Regions from separate parts of the Homo sapiens genome. Here region 2 is linked to region 1. Evidence: promoter capture Hi-C in 16 types of primary human blood cells and fetal thymus (Javierre and others, 2016). All regions are on one chromosome and are shown on one strand. Each heading gives the region's core, a stretch centred on a gene start or on the middle of the fragment in contact. The rest is flanking DNA. Distances are from core to core; before and after follow the strand shown. Region 1 holds the start of ZNF827 (zinc finger protein 827). Region 2 holds the start of NR3C2 (nuclear receptor subfamily 3 group C member 2).

Region 1 (5,684 bases), core at 2,216-4,715:
ACTTGCAAGTTTCAAGCCTCACTCAGCAGTTAGCAAGCCTTGGGTGACTGTGATTGAACTGCAAAATACACCATTTGCCCAGAAATTGCAAAGTCCAAACACAAACTGCTTTAAAAACATGTGCAAAACACACTTAGCACAGGCAACACATATCCACAAAAATCCATTCAATGCAAAGGTAAGTGGAAAAGCTTAGAAAATTAAGGCCTCCCTTTCAAAACTGCAGGGACTTTTACGGTGTTTCCAAAGGTAATTGCTTCTTACTTCAGTAAAAGTGACTTTATGTGACTGAAAGAGGGAGGTGATATTTTTTTAAGTGAGTGGCTAACAGGATTCAATCAGACAGCAAAGTAGGAGAGCCCACTCTGAAAATATAACTTCATCACCAGGCACCGACGCGCAGGAAAGGCCCACCAAGCACACGAGCTAAAATGGAGCCTGAATTTCCTCTCAGACGGAGAGGGTAGTCGCAGGAGGTCAGGGTCAAGGTCATCAGCAGGGCACGCTGCAGCTGCCCGACTGCACTACACACAAGAGGAGGGAAGGCGTTCCATCTCCGTCACAGACGAAACAGATAAATCCCTTCTCCTCTCCCACCCTCCCTCTAACCCCGCCAACATTTTTTTTTTTAAAGCAGGGGGAGAAGAGAAGAAAGGGAAAATGACCAAATAACCTCACCGCCCTGTTTTCGCACACAAGCTCATCAGCTCCCAAAGTTGCCATCTAAGGGCAAGTTCGCAGAGAACACTGAAGCCCATTTTGTCCAAGCACGGCAGACCTCCCCTGACCCCCTCAGGATTCCTGCCTCCTCTCCCTCCCCCCACACGCCCCCGACAAGAGCCCGGCAGCGGGGCAGTCCGGCCATGTGCACGCACACTCTTCCACCAACTGCTGCGAGTTTTCTGTGAATCGCAGCGCGGAGCCTCCCAACTCGCCCTCCCCGACTCCACCGCCTTCTCCTTCCTCGCACAAAATTTCCCTACACACGCAGCCGCCTGCGAGTGATTTTATGTGCATATATATTACATATGTGATATTATCCTCAGAACCTCTAGCGGGCAGGCGAAGAAAGGACTGCACAGGGGCATTTTTTTTTTTTAAAGGAAGGGGAAAAAAGCACAACCCAAGCCCTTTGCGTCGACTCCTGCGTACCGGGAAGGGGAAAGAAAGAGGAATGTTTGCGGAGCGGACTGCTTGCAAGTGCCCTTGCTCGCCACTTCGGCTGCGGCCCGGGTGACACGGAGGCGCGGGGGCGCCTGGCCCGAGCAGCCCGCGCCCCCCTCCCGGTCCCCTGGGCAGGCACCGCCGCGGTTATTTCGCGAGGGGGAGATCGATCGCCCTGCCTGTCTGCAGCGGAAAAGCACAAGCTCACACACAGCCCGAGCCCGAGACACCATAACCTTAACCCTTCCCCCACCCTCCGTGAACTTCAGGTGACCGACCACGTCGGCCTGACACCCGGGCGGGCGGGCGCTCCGGCTCCACTCCCGCCCCCAGCCCGGGTTTTGCAGGATCGGGCTCCGAGCAGCGCCAAACCGCCGGGAGAGGGGAGTAGTGTGGGGGGAGAGAAGAGAAATTGACCCTCCGTCTCCCCCGACCCCTCCCTCCGGCGCCTCCCGCGTCCCCTCCTCCCCGTCACCCCGCCCCACGCCTTCTCCCCTGCCCCCTCTTCCCTGCATTCAAGGAGCCGGGCGGCCCCGGGGGATATTTTTAGTTGCTTCTTTCTCCTTCACTTTTAGCTTTAGCAGCATCTCGAAACACTCAAAGCGGAGAAAGACTGGGGGGTTGGGGGGAGCTGGAGAGGGAGTGGGGGAAAAGTTAAGAGTCGCGCAAAGAAAAGCCGGAGGGAGGGCGGAGAGGGACCGGGGGCGCGGGTGGAGGAGGGGAAGGGGACCGGGCCGTGCCGGCGGGTGTGTGTCTCCAGTTGGCGTGTGTGGCTGCCGCCGGGGAGGGCTGTGATGCACTTTAGTCCTGGACTCTGCTCAGGCTCGCCAAGGAGGGGGTCTGAGAGCCCGAGTCTCGCCCGGCTCCGTCTGCTCCGACTGACCCCGCATTTTATTGCGGCCAGGAGCCCTGCTCCTCCCTCTCCTCCGCTCTGCAGGGACCTCGCGCGCCGCGAGCCGCCCTGCCTCCTGCCTTCGCCTCGGCGCAGCTCCCGCACCCCACATCCGCCCGCCGCTGCCCGGCCTCGCCCCCCGCCCGGCCGCCCCGCGCCCCGGCGCGCCCCCTCGCCTCGGCGCCGCGGGAGCAGCCGCCCGGCGGCGCGTGTGTACCCGTGTGTTTGTGTGCGGTGCCCCTACACCCTCCCCAGCCGCTCCCGCCTCGCCCGCCCCCGACTCCCCTCCTCCGCCGCCGCCTCCTCCACCTCCGCCTCCTCCTGCTCCAGCCGCCGCCGCCGCTGCCGCCGGCGGCTCGGGGGCCGACCAACCCCGGCGCAACCTTTAGCCAGGGACGGACCTCTCCCTGGATCCTGTACCCGGCGGCTGCTGCGCGCCCTCTCCCCGACACCCCCAAACGCCATGTCACGGCCCCCAGCCCTCCGCGCGCCCCGACCCCCGCACCCTCAGGCGCCGGAATCCACAAGGAATTTTTTTTTTTTTAAGATTCCAACCTCTCCCACCTCCCCCCACCAAACCCCCGATAAAACCCCCGGCATCCACACTACTCCCCTCCTCCCTTCTCTTGCCCCCTCCCCCCAGCAACCCAGAGTGAGGAGGGGGAAGGGGAGGGAAAGGGAAAAAAAAGCCCGATCTCAAGGAAAAAAAGGGGGGGGGTGAGAGAAAGAAAGAAAAAGAGAGAGAGAATAGAAAGGGCACGGGGCTGATCATCACCAACATGGCTGCCTCAGCATAGACCTAAACGAGGAGTAACCCGGGCTGTGTCTTTGTCAGTTTCACCTCTGTAACCCTAAACTAATGCAGAAAACAACGGAGGAGGCTGCGGAGGGGAAAGAGGAGAGGGAGGGCGAGAAAATGGCACGAGAGGAGGTGGAGAAGGGATGACTTACGTGAGGGAAGGCGCTTGGGCTGCTCCTGCTTCCTCCTGGGCATTTTCCCCCTTTTCTCACATTCTCCTCCTTGGTTAATGTGAGATCAAATAAACCCCCGTGGGGGCAGAGAGGCAGACACTGGCAGGAGCGGGGAGGTAGTTGGGGGGCGGGCGGGCGGGCAGGGGGAAACCCCTTCTCCGGTGTGTGCAATGGGTTGAAGCTTGTTTCCTGGAGCCAGAAGAGGGGTTTTCTTCTTTTCTTTCCTTTCTTTTTTCCTTTTTTTTTTTTTTTTAAATTTTTGGTCGTGCACCTGGCTTGTCCCCGAGCGTAATATTCTTCAATGGAAACGGATCTAATAGGTGTGAGTGTGTGTGTGTCCTATGCTCGCGTGTGTGATGGGAGGTATAAATAAATGAGTGCCGGTGCGGCGGTGTCTATGGCCGCGCTCTGTGTCTCCGAGCCCCTAACACTAATGTCGGGATCAAAGGGCAGCGGCGGCGGCAGCACAGCTCACAGCTCGCTCTCTTGCTCTCTCTCTCTCTCTTTCTCGCTCTCTCTCCTCTCGCGCTCTCTCTCTCGCTCTCTCTCTGTCACACACACACACACACAAGAGGCACAGACTGAGGGAAAGAGCGAGAGCTACACACACACACACGCACGCACACACACACACAGAGCAAAGAGGAAAGTGCCCCAAGGCTCCCAGGGCGGACTCAGCCTCGGATTTACAACCGCTCTGTCTGGAAAGAATGGGGGGCGCGCGTGCGGGGGTGGGATGGAGTTCTTCAAATTTATCCCGCTAGTCACCAAATCTAGGGGGAAAAAGTTTTTCTCACTCTTTAAACAACGATTAGTTCATTATTTTACTGACTTTTAAAAAGGAAATAAATTTCTCTCTTCACTTTCTTTTGTTTATTAAGCTACATTTTGTTCTGTATGAAATTCTGCAGGCTTTTGTCCCTACCCCATCACCTTAAATCTGGAGGTTATCGTCTCCCACACACTCTTCAAAAACATTCCAAAAAAACTAATTTAAAAAAAATGAAGACAACATATGGTGAAATCAATAACTTGGTTGACAGTTGACAGAATAAGTGCCCAGTTTTGGAGTGTCCACTGGAGTTAAAACTGAAAAATGCTCCTAAATGAACATTACAGCTACTTGACAAAGAGAGGAAAATAAGATTAGGTCACCCCTGATGGTTGCTTTAACTGCTACGTGATACTCCTAGAGTGCACACAGCAATCTTTACTTCGGAAATTCACTTTTTCCCCTGCTATATACTGCAGGTATATGAAGTTTACCCTGAAGCAATTCCAGTGTGCATTATGAGCCCAATATAGCAGTTTTCATTAACTGATACATACTTTCATTACCTTACAAATCACACATCTTTCTTCAAAGAGAGACATAAAGGAGAAAAATAGAAAAGGACGGGTCTCACTAGAGCACAAAAGGTACTTGGTGAAAGAGGACTGTTCTCTTTGTGACTTGCAGTCATTTGGATAAAAGTTCACTCAGAGGTTGTTAATGATTTAAACTCCAAAACCTGCTACTATAATTGAAATAAAAATGGTCTGAAGAAGAGTTGTTTCATAAAACTCTCTTTGTAAGAGGAAACTTTGAACTTAGCAGAATACATTATATGTCATGAGTCATGTAGCTAGAAAATAAAAAGGTGCATTATTTAACTACATCTTCCCTTTTTAGCTTTTTTAAAACTCTGACTCATCATCTTATTATGTTAAATATTTTCCTACCAATTTTTAAATAGACCTTTTCATCAAAGAAAGTGGAGGCACAGTAAAGACATAGAACATTAAAATGACACTCTATAAGCCTACATGGATAACTCATGCCTCTTTGAGGTTGAGTTAATTCTTACAACTTCAGTGGTGTTAAAGAGAGCCATGGGGGTTAAATTCTGACTTGCCTTATTAAAAATAATAATAAGGCTTTATATTGCACACTTTTATAAGTGAAGCTTAAAGAGTGCTGTATCTCCCAAAAGATGTCTTTCACTGATAGAGAAATCTCACGTTCAACCCCTCCCTGCCAACTCCCCCCAAAAGATCTAGCTTCCCAGTAACAAGTAATGCTATTGAAAGCGAGGTTTGAAACACCTGCATGAATTCAATCTAAAACCAAAACAGAGAGCAGTCAAGTTTAAAATGGAGCACCCTGTAATCCCAGCACTTTGGGAGGCGGAAGTGGGCAGATCACGAGGTCAAGAGATCGAGACCATCCTGGCCAACATGGTGAAATCCCGTCTCTACTAAAAATACAAAAATTAGCTGGATGTAGTGGCACACTCCTGTAGTCCCAGCTACTTGGGAGACTGAGGCAGGAGAATCGCTTGAACCTGGGAGGCGGAGGTTGCAGTGAGCCGAGATCGGGCCACTGCACTCCAGCCTGGCGACAGAGCGAGACTCCATCTCAAAAAAAAAAAAAAAAAAAAAAAAGGAGCATCATCCTTAAACCAGTTCTTCCTCAAATGTTGGTTTTAAAAAACTGGTAGTTAGGTTGCCCTGCATTATAATTTGAAATATAACTATCTTTCCACTCAGGTCAAATTCAATTTGCCATAATTTTGACTATTGTCGGTGACATTGGACTTGAAATTAATATATTAATGATAAATTAGAGCCCATCCTTTCCAAGTAGACCAATGCTCTGAGTGTGTAGAATCTTTAC
Region 2 (5,684 bases), core at 2,328-4,827, 2.5 Mb after region 1:
TTCCAAACATTAAAATCTACCAATTATGTAGTATGTTTTCACTTAAAGAACATCCTATGAATTCCTAATCAAAAATCAATCACAAAACAGTAGAAAATAAATAAAATTACAAAGGTTGAGGTAGTTATCTATTAATAGTAATTCCAGCCAAAATGTTTGGTGTGGATGAAAGCCAAGTAAAAGCTGATAGAAAACTAAACTAAAAAACAGTGAATTGGGATCCAAATAGCTAAGACTGGCCTTTTATGCTTTACTAAAAAACCATTTAGTCATAGCTATGTATTGAAAAATAGCAGTAAATATTATATGCTGCTTCTATTTCTACCTAAGAATATTTTGTCTTCCCCATACTAAAGATAAATTACTATATAGCTAAGGTATAAATGGTTCAGATCCAAATCCATTAAACAACACAATAAATATGTCTATTTGTATTCAAAACTGAACACTTTCTGCACATCTCTCCCCCCACACACCCCCAAATTCACATTCGCTCTCTTGGCAAACTGCACCACCATCTAACCAGATGCCTGGAAGTTACTCTTGTCTCAACAGCTTTACCTGAAGGCCTTCACTGGCACACTCTGCGTCACTCACATAGCCTCATTCTCTTCCTGGTCATAGTCAAGAGGGCTCTCTGTCCCGTGTCTGAAGGGGACCCCCACCCAGACCCCTCTCCAAAACCCATTCTCCAAATTGTCTTTTGGGAAGGGCGGTCCACTCTTGGCTTTTTTGAAATTTCCCTATATAAATTTGCATATCAAAACCTCTGGGAGATTCTGTTTACTTTTTAATCCAGCATTCCTCAAATAATTTGACCACTCCACCTTTTTCTCAAAGAACATCTACTAAGATTCTGCACTTTTCGGCACTCTGCCCTAAAGCAAGAACCATATCCCACATTTGTGAGGCTACGGAAGACCTGAAGAGAATCTATACTGGAGATGATGGGTACCAAAGACAGTCTTAAAGCCCTGGACAAGGTAGCACCTTACCAGCTAACATCATACAGCTGATCACAACTTTCCAAGTCCTGTTTGGCTAACCTTGAACTCCCTTAATAACATAAAATAGGCTGTGTTTCACCACATTATTGACAGGAGTCTCATTAAGGAATTTGCAAAAGGCTTTGCTGAAATCTAAATTACTTTGTTTAAGGTATTCTCATCTACCAACCTAATGCACCTCTCAACAAAGGAAACAATACAGATTGGCAATAGTCAAACACAAAAGAATACAAGACATCTAGCATCTGCACGGCTTCTACACAAACATTTTTTTAAGATCAGATATTTTTCAAATAGCATTATTGAAATATTTTGAGTCTCCCTAGTATTTTAATTAGTCTTTTCTGTAAACAAATGGGTCCAGTTAGGAATTTATTTACTATGTCATCCAGGAAGCAGAGGTTATCTTTTTGCAACTGGCACAATGACCATGGCTTGAGCAGAATTTCAGTCAACCTGTACTAACTAGTGAATACTGAAAATACTAGTCGATGAATATGATCCTCATAGAACTTAATATCTAGAGGATAAAGAAAAAGTTTATGTTACTAAAGTATAAAATGAAGCAGATAGAGGTATACAAATCTAACTAACAAAAATCAGGCTTGCCTGCCTCACAATGGAAACCATACCAAAGATTCTCTTAGGACAAATGCAAAAAACATTATGAACTTTTAATTTTCATGCAAATGGGCCTCGCCCCAAAACACAAAAAAAAATTCACTAAAGGAAAAGCACTGGTGGAGGTGCTACTTTAAGCCATACATATGCTCTCAAACACAAAAGAAATGCTGTTTTCACAAAGGAAAACCTTAAAGTTTTACGTTTTACAGTCTGTGTTAAATTGCCCTTTTCCATAAAGAAGTACTTTTTTCGGGAATATTAACAAAGATCCTTGCGAATTTGTATTTTATCTGGAAACACTTTCACTTTTAGTAACCCCCAAAACCCAATCTCATCATGATGGAAATGATAGAAAAGGCATCTTTTTTATATTTATTTGACTATAAGATGGCACTTTAAAGACTAAAGCTTAAGAATCTCACAATCATCTATAGACTGCATAGTTGTAAAAGTTCACTATATGTAACTATTTTTTGTCATTCCCCACTACATAACTATTATGTTCCTCTCTTTTATAGATGAGGTAAATGATAGAAATCTGCCCAAGGTCACCTGAGAGAGCGGGAGAACCAGTTAGAACTGAGCACACCTGATTTCTATTCACTCACCTAATTTACCGAGCCACCTGATCTTTCCAAAAATCGCCAAACAAAACTATGCCTCCCTTAAAGGAAAAAGCTCCACTTTAAATTATTTTTTAAAACTTCTCCTCTCAAGCTTTTCCATGATAGCTGCCACGATGTCAAACATAAAATTTAAACTTCACAGCAGGACTTCACAGATGGAGAATGCTGTTATCATTACTATGTAAATATCATCAATAACAGCACCTAGAGAAATGGCAATACAAAATGTTAGGAAGCAATTTGGTGCCTTTAAAATTCGGCGGTTTCAAAAGCTCGTCTGCTATCAAAAGTTTTCCTAACTCCTATGTCATAATAAATAATTAAAACTGATGGTGCCATAAACCATTATTATTTAAACCTGGTCTTTTTAAATTGAGTAGGCAAAGCCACGCACCTAAAATTCAGTAGCAGAGTAAGGATGCCACCAAAAGAAGCTTCGTCCCCTTCTCCCTTGCCCTTAAAATTCCAACTGATGCCATAGGAAGCGTAGCCTGTCTCAAGAGTTTCGCGAATGCTAGCGAACGGGAAATGCACGAATTTCCAGAGCCCCTTTTATACAGGATCTATTAGGATCTATATCTCCTTCAACTGCCCTTATGCGCTACACCTCCGGCTGAGATTTGGGAGCGTCCGCAATTGATAAAGGAAAGAAATATTATTCAAACGTCCTTTAAAAATTGTACAGGGAAAATGATCCGAAATTCATCTTTGGGTAAAGGGAAGGGTGGTAGACCTCCCACTGCCAAAGGCAGTTAAAAGCTGCTAGTTAGAGGGCATTTATCCAAAGTGGCCAAACTTTCCCAAAATAGTCCTCTGGCGGCCAAAGGGGGAGAAAAGTGGAAAACCAAAACAAAACAACAAGCACACAGCACCATACTGACTGTGCCTCCGGATTACGCAGCCACTTCTCCCTGCAAAGTGCACGCTCCCGCGCCGCGGCCGCACGCCGAGCACGGCAAGCGGTGCCCCGCCGCGCGCCCCTACACACCTGCCTCGGCCGGGGTCCGTCTCTCGCCGTCTACCTGTTGCAGCGCTTGCCACCGCCACGAAACCCCTGCTGCGGAGCCCCCCTAAATCCAACCACATCCAGGCCAGCGAGTGCCGCTCTCCCTGCAGCGGGAGAGCCCGAGGCAGCAACGCTCTTGCACCCAGGTGACTGACTGCACGGGCTTCCTCTGAGCAGCCTGAAGTTGGCTCCCGTCTCCCGGGCCCAATGACACCCCGGGCGCGGAGGGGCTGAGAGGAGGGGGCAGGGGCAGGGGCAGGGCCAGGGCGGGCAAAAAAGGGAGGGAGAGAGGGCGGGCGAAAGCCCGGAGGGGGAGTGGGCCAGCTGGAGGGCTGGCCCTTTTAAAAGCGGGTCACATGTCCAGATAAAGTTCAGGTTGCTATCCCGCCCCCCTGAACCCTTCCTATTGGCCCGAAGAGAAGCAAGGCTCCACGCCGCACGGGTCAGGCGGGCTTCTTATTGGACAATCCAGGCTGTCAGTCACCAGGCGGGCGACATGACTGATACAAAGTTGCTGCGACACAGCCTGGACTCGGCAGCTTCCTTAAAGCCGCAGCCGCGGCGGGAGCTTGGGGTGCCGGGCGGTGGCTACATCAGGCGGCCTCCGCACGCTGCCCCCACCCCCATCGCTCGGCCGCCCCAAACTTGCTTACGTCCACCCTGCTCTCCTTCTGACCGACCCCAGGATATCTGGAGAGATGTGAAAAGTGTGCTGACGCGGAAGAAGTCGGTTTTTCCGCGAGCAAAGTGTCGTCCCCTCACGCTCTCCACCTGCAGCTCCAGGTGAGCTGCAGCCCAGACCCTGGCGCCGCCCAACAGCGTCCGCGCGCGGGGAGGACTCTGGGTGGGCTTCACCCGACCCTCGAGGTTCCTCTCCCAGCCCCTTTCCACTGTCTCCAGAGTTACCTCTCAGCAGAGCAGCAGCAGCCTTCGCTGCCAGCGAGCAAGACGATCACGTTCACTCGATTTGAATTTAGTTGTTTTAACCGTGCTGGAAAAACCCTTTAAACACAGCTTTCCTCCCATCCCTTAGACCCCTAACACCAAAAAAAAAAAAAAAAAAAAAAAAAAAAAAAAGAGAGAGAGAGAAAGATAAATGAAAGAAGTGGCAGGGTCAAGAGCTGCTCCTCTACTTCCTTATAATTTTGTCACTGTACTTACTACTTTAGTATTGGATTTTTCCACTAGTTCAATTTGAAAGCAAGCTTACCATCGAGGATATTCACGTTATAATGGGTGGAGGGGGTGGGTCACATAAGTGGGAGAAACAGACAGGAGGGGGGAAGGAACCAAACTGTTTTCTAAGGATCGGTTGTCTGCATGAAGAAATTTCGGTTTCCCTCCAACCGCCCCCTCCTCGATTCTCCTCCCGCCCACCCAAATGCTGCAGTTACTAAGCAAAAGGATGGGGTTCCTAACTTTGATTTCTAAGGACTTTTAGGCTTCTCATGTAAGGCCCCGTTTTAGGCTCCCCGCTGGCCCGGAGTCAGCATCAGTGACGTATACACCTAAATCTGGTCCCCCGGCCCTCGGCGACCCGCAGCCCGGCGGCGGCAGCTGTGCGGCCTCCCGCCTCACCCTCGCTTCGCGCCCGCCAAAGCCCGAGGCGGGGGACCGGGGGACACCCTGTGCCCAAAGGCCCCTCCTCTCCTTAACAGTTAGTTAAGCTCCGGGATTCCGGACCCCTAACCCAGGGCTGAGACTTGAACTCTCAGCCGCTCCAGTCAGGAACTCCCTGGAGATAGGGGCGACAGCGGCAGCGCCGCGAGCTGGTCCTGACCCCAGACTCTAATGCCCCTCGGTCCCCAGCTTGGAGCTGCCCCCGGCGTCCCCGCAGCCAGGAGTCCCCGCCGAGCGTCCCAACTTTCCCGCGGGGCCCACCGTCACGCGCACTCTCCCGGCCCAGCGAACTGGGCATCGATCTCACGTCGGCAGAGCGCGGGCGGCGGGCGGGAGCAAGGGGAGTCCCGGACCTAGAGCCTGGGCACGCGAGGCGGCGGCGGCTCCGCAAGCGTTGCCGAATTATTCATTATTAAAGGAATGGACGTGTCTCTTTTACTAAGTTTTTATCTCCTTTGAGGAGGGCCGGTCTTGCCCTGGATCTCAGCTTCTTGCAAAATCTAGGTTAGAACCGTGCAGGGGCAGCCGCCGCGATCACTCGCCCGCCACCCAGCACCCTTGCCCCAGGGCCGCCAGCGGGCAACTCGTCTCCTGCCCGCATCCCACCTCCGCTCGCCAACCCGCGCCCTCTGCCCTGGGCGCGCAACCTGCCTTGCCCGGGGCCGCCCCTGCGCTCTCCGGACCCCCTCTCGCCGCTGTCAGCGCAAAGTGACTGTCGCTGCACTCACCTTTTCTAGGACATGGTGGGGAGGCTGGGGCGGGGGAAGGGGAACGGCTAGACTCCCGCCGCCGCTGCTGCCG

What was found. Contacts are between HindIII fragments. The CHiCAGO score rates a contact against its expected background, and 5 or more counts as called.
Region 2: a contact is called between a fragment that was not itself captured here and the fragment with the promoter of ZNF827 in region 1, in 1 of 17 cell types (total CD8 T cells). The highest score is 5.5, in total CD8 T cells.

What each region holds. Positions count from the first base shown.
Region 1 is chr4:145,935,358-145,941,041 of GRCh38, forward strand. It overlaps ZNF827 (zinc finger protein 827), which reads right to left and starts at 3,466. Exons shown (of 15, transcript NM_001306215.2): 1 at 3,008-3,466. The coding sequence starts at 3,050. RefSeq lists silencers at 1,129-1,708, 1,809-2,218, 2,339-2,408 and an enhancer at 2,783-2,842. The HindIII fragment of the contact is 1,765 bases long and covers 3,208-4,972 here.
Region 2 is chr4:148,438,915-148,444,598 of GRCh38, forward strand. NR3C2 (nuclear receptor subfamily 3 group C member 2) reads right to left here and starts at 3,500. Exons shown (of 9, transcript NM_000901.5): 1 at 3,246-3,500. RefSeq lists a silencer at 3,408-3,697 and an enhancer at 5,634-5,684. The HindIII fragment of the contact is 1,777 bases long and covers 2,690-4,466 here.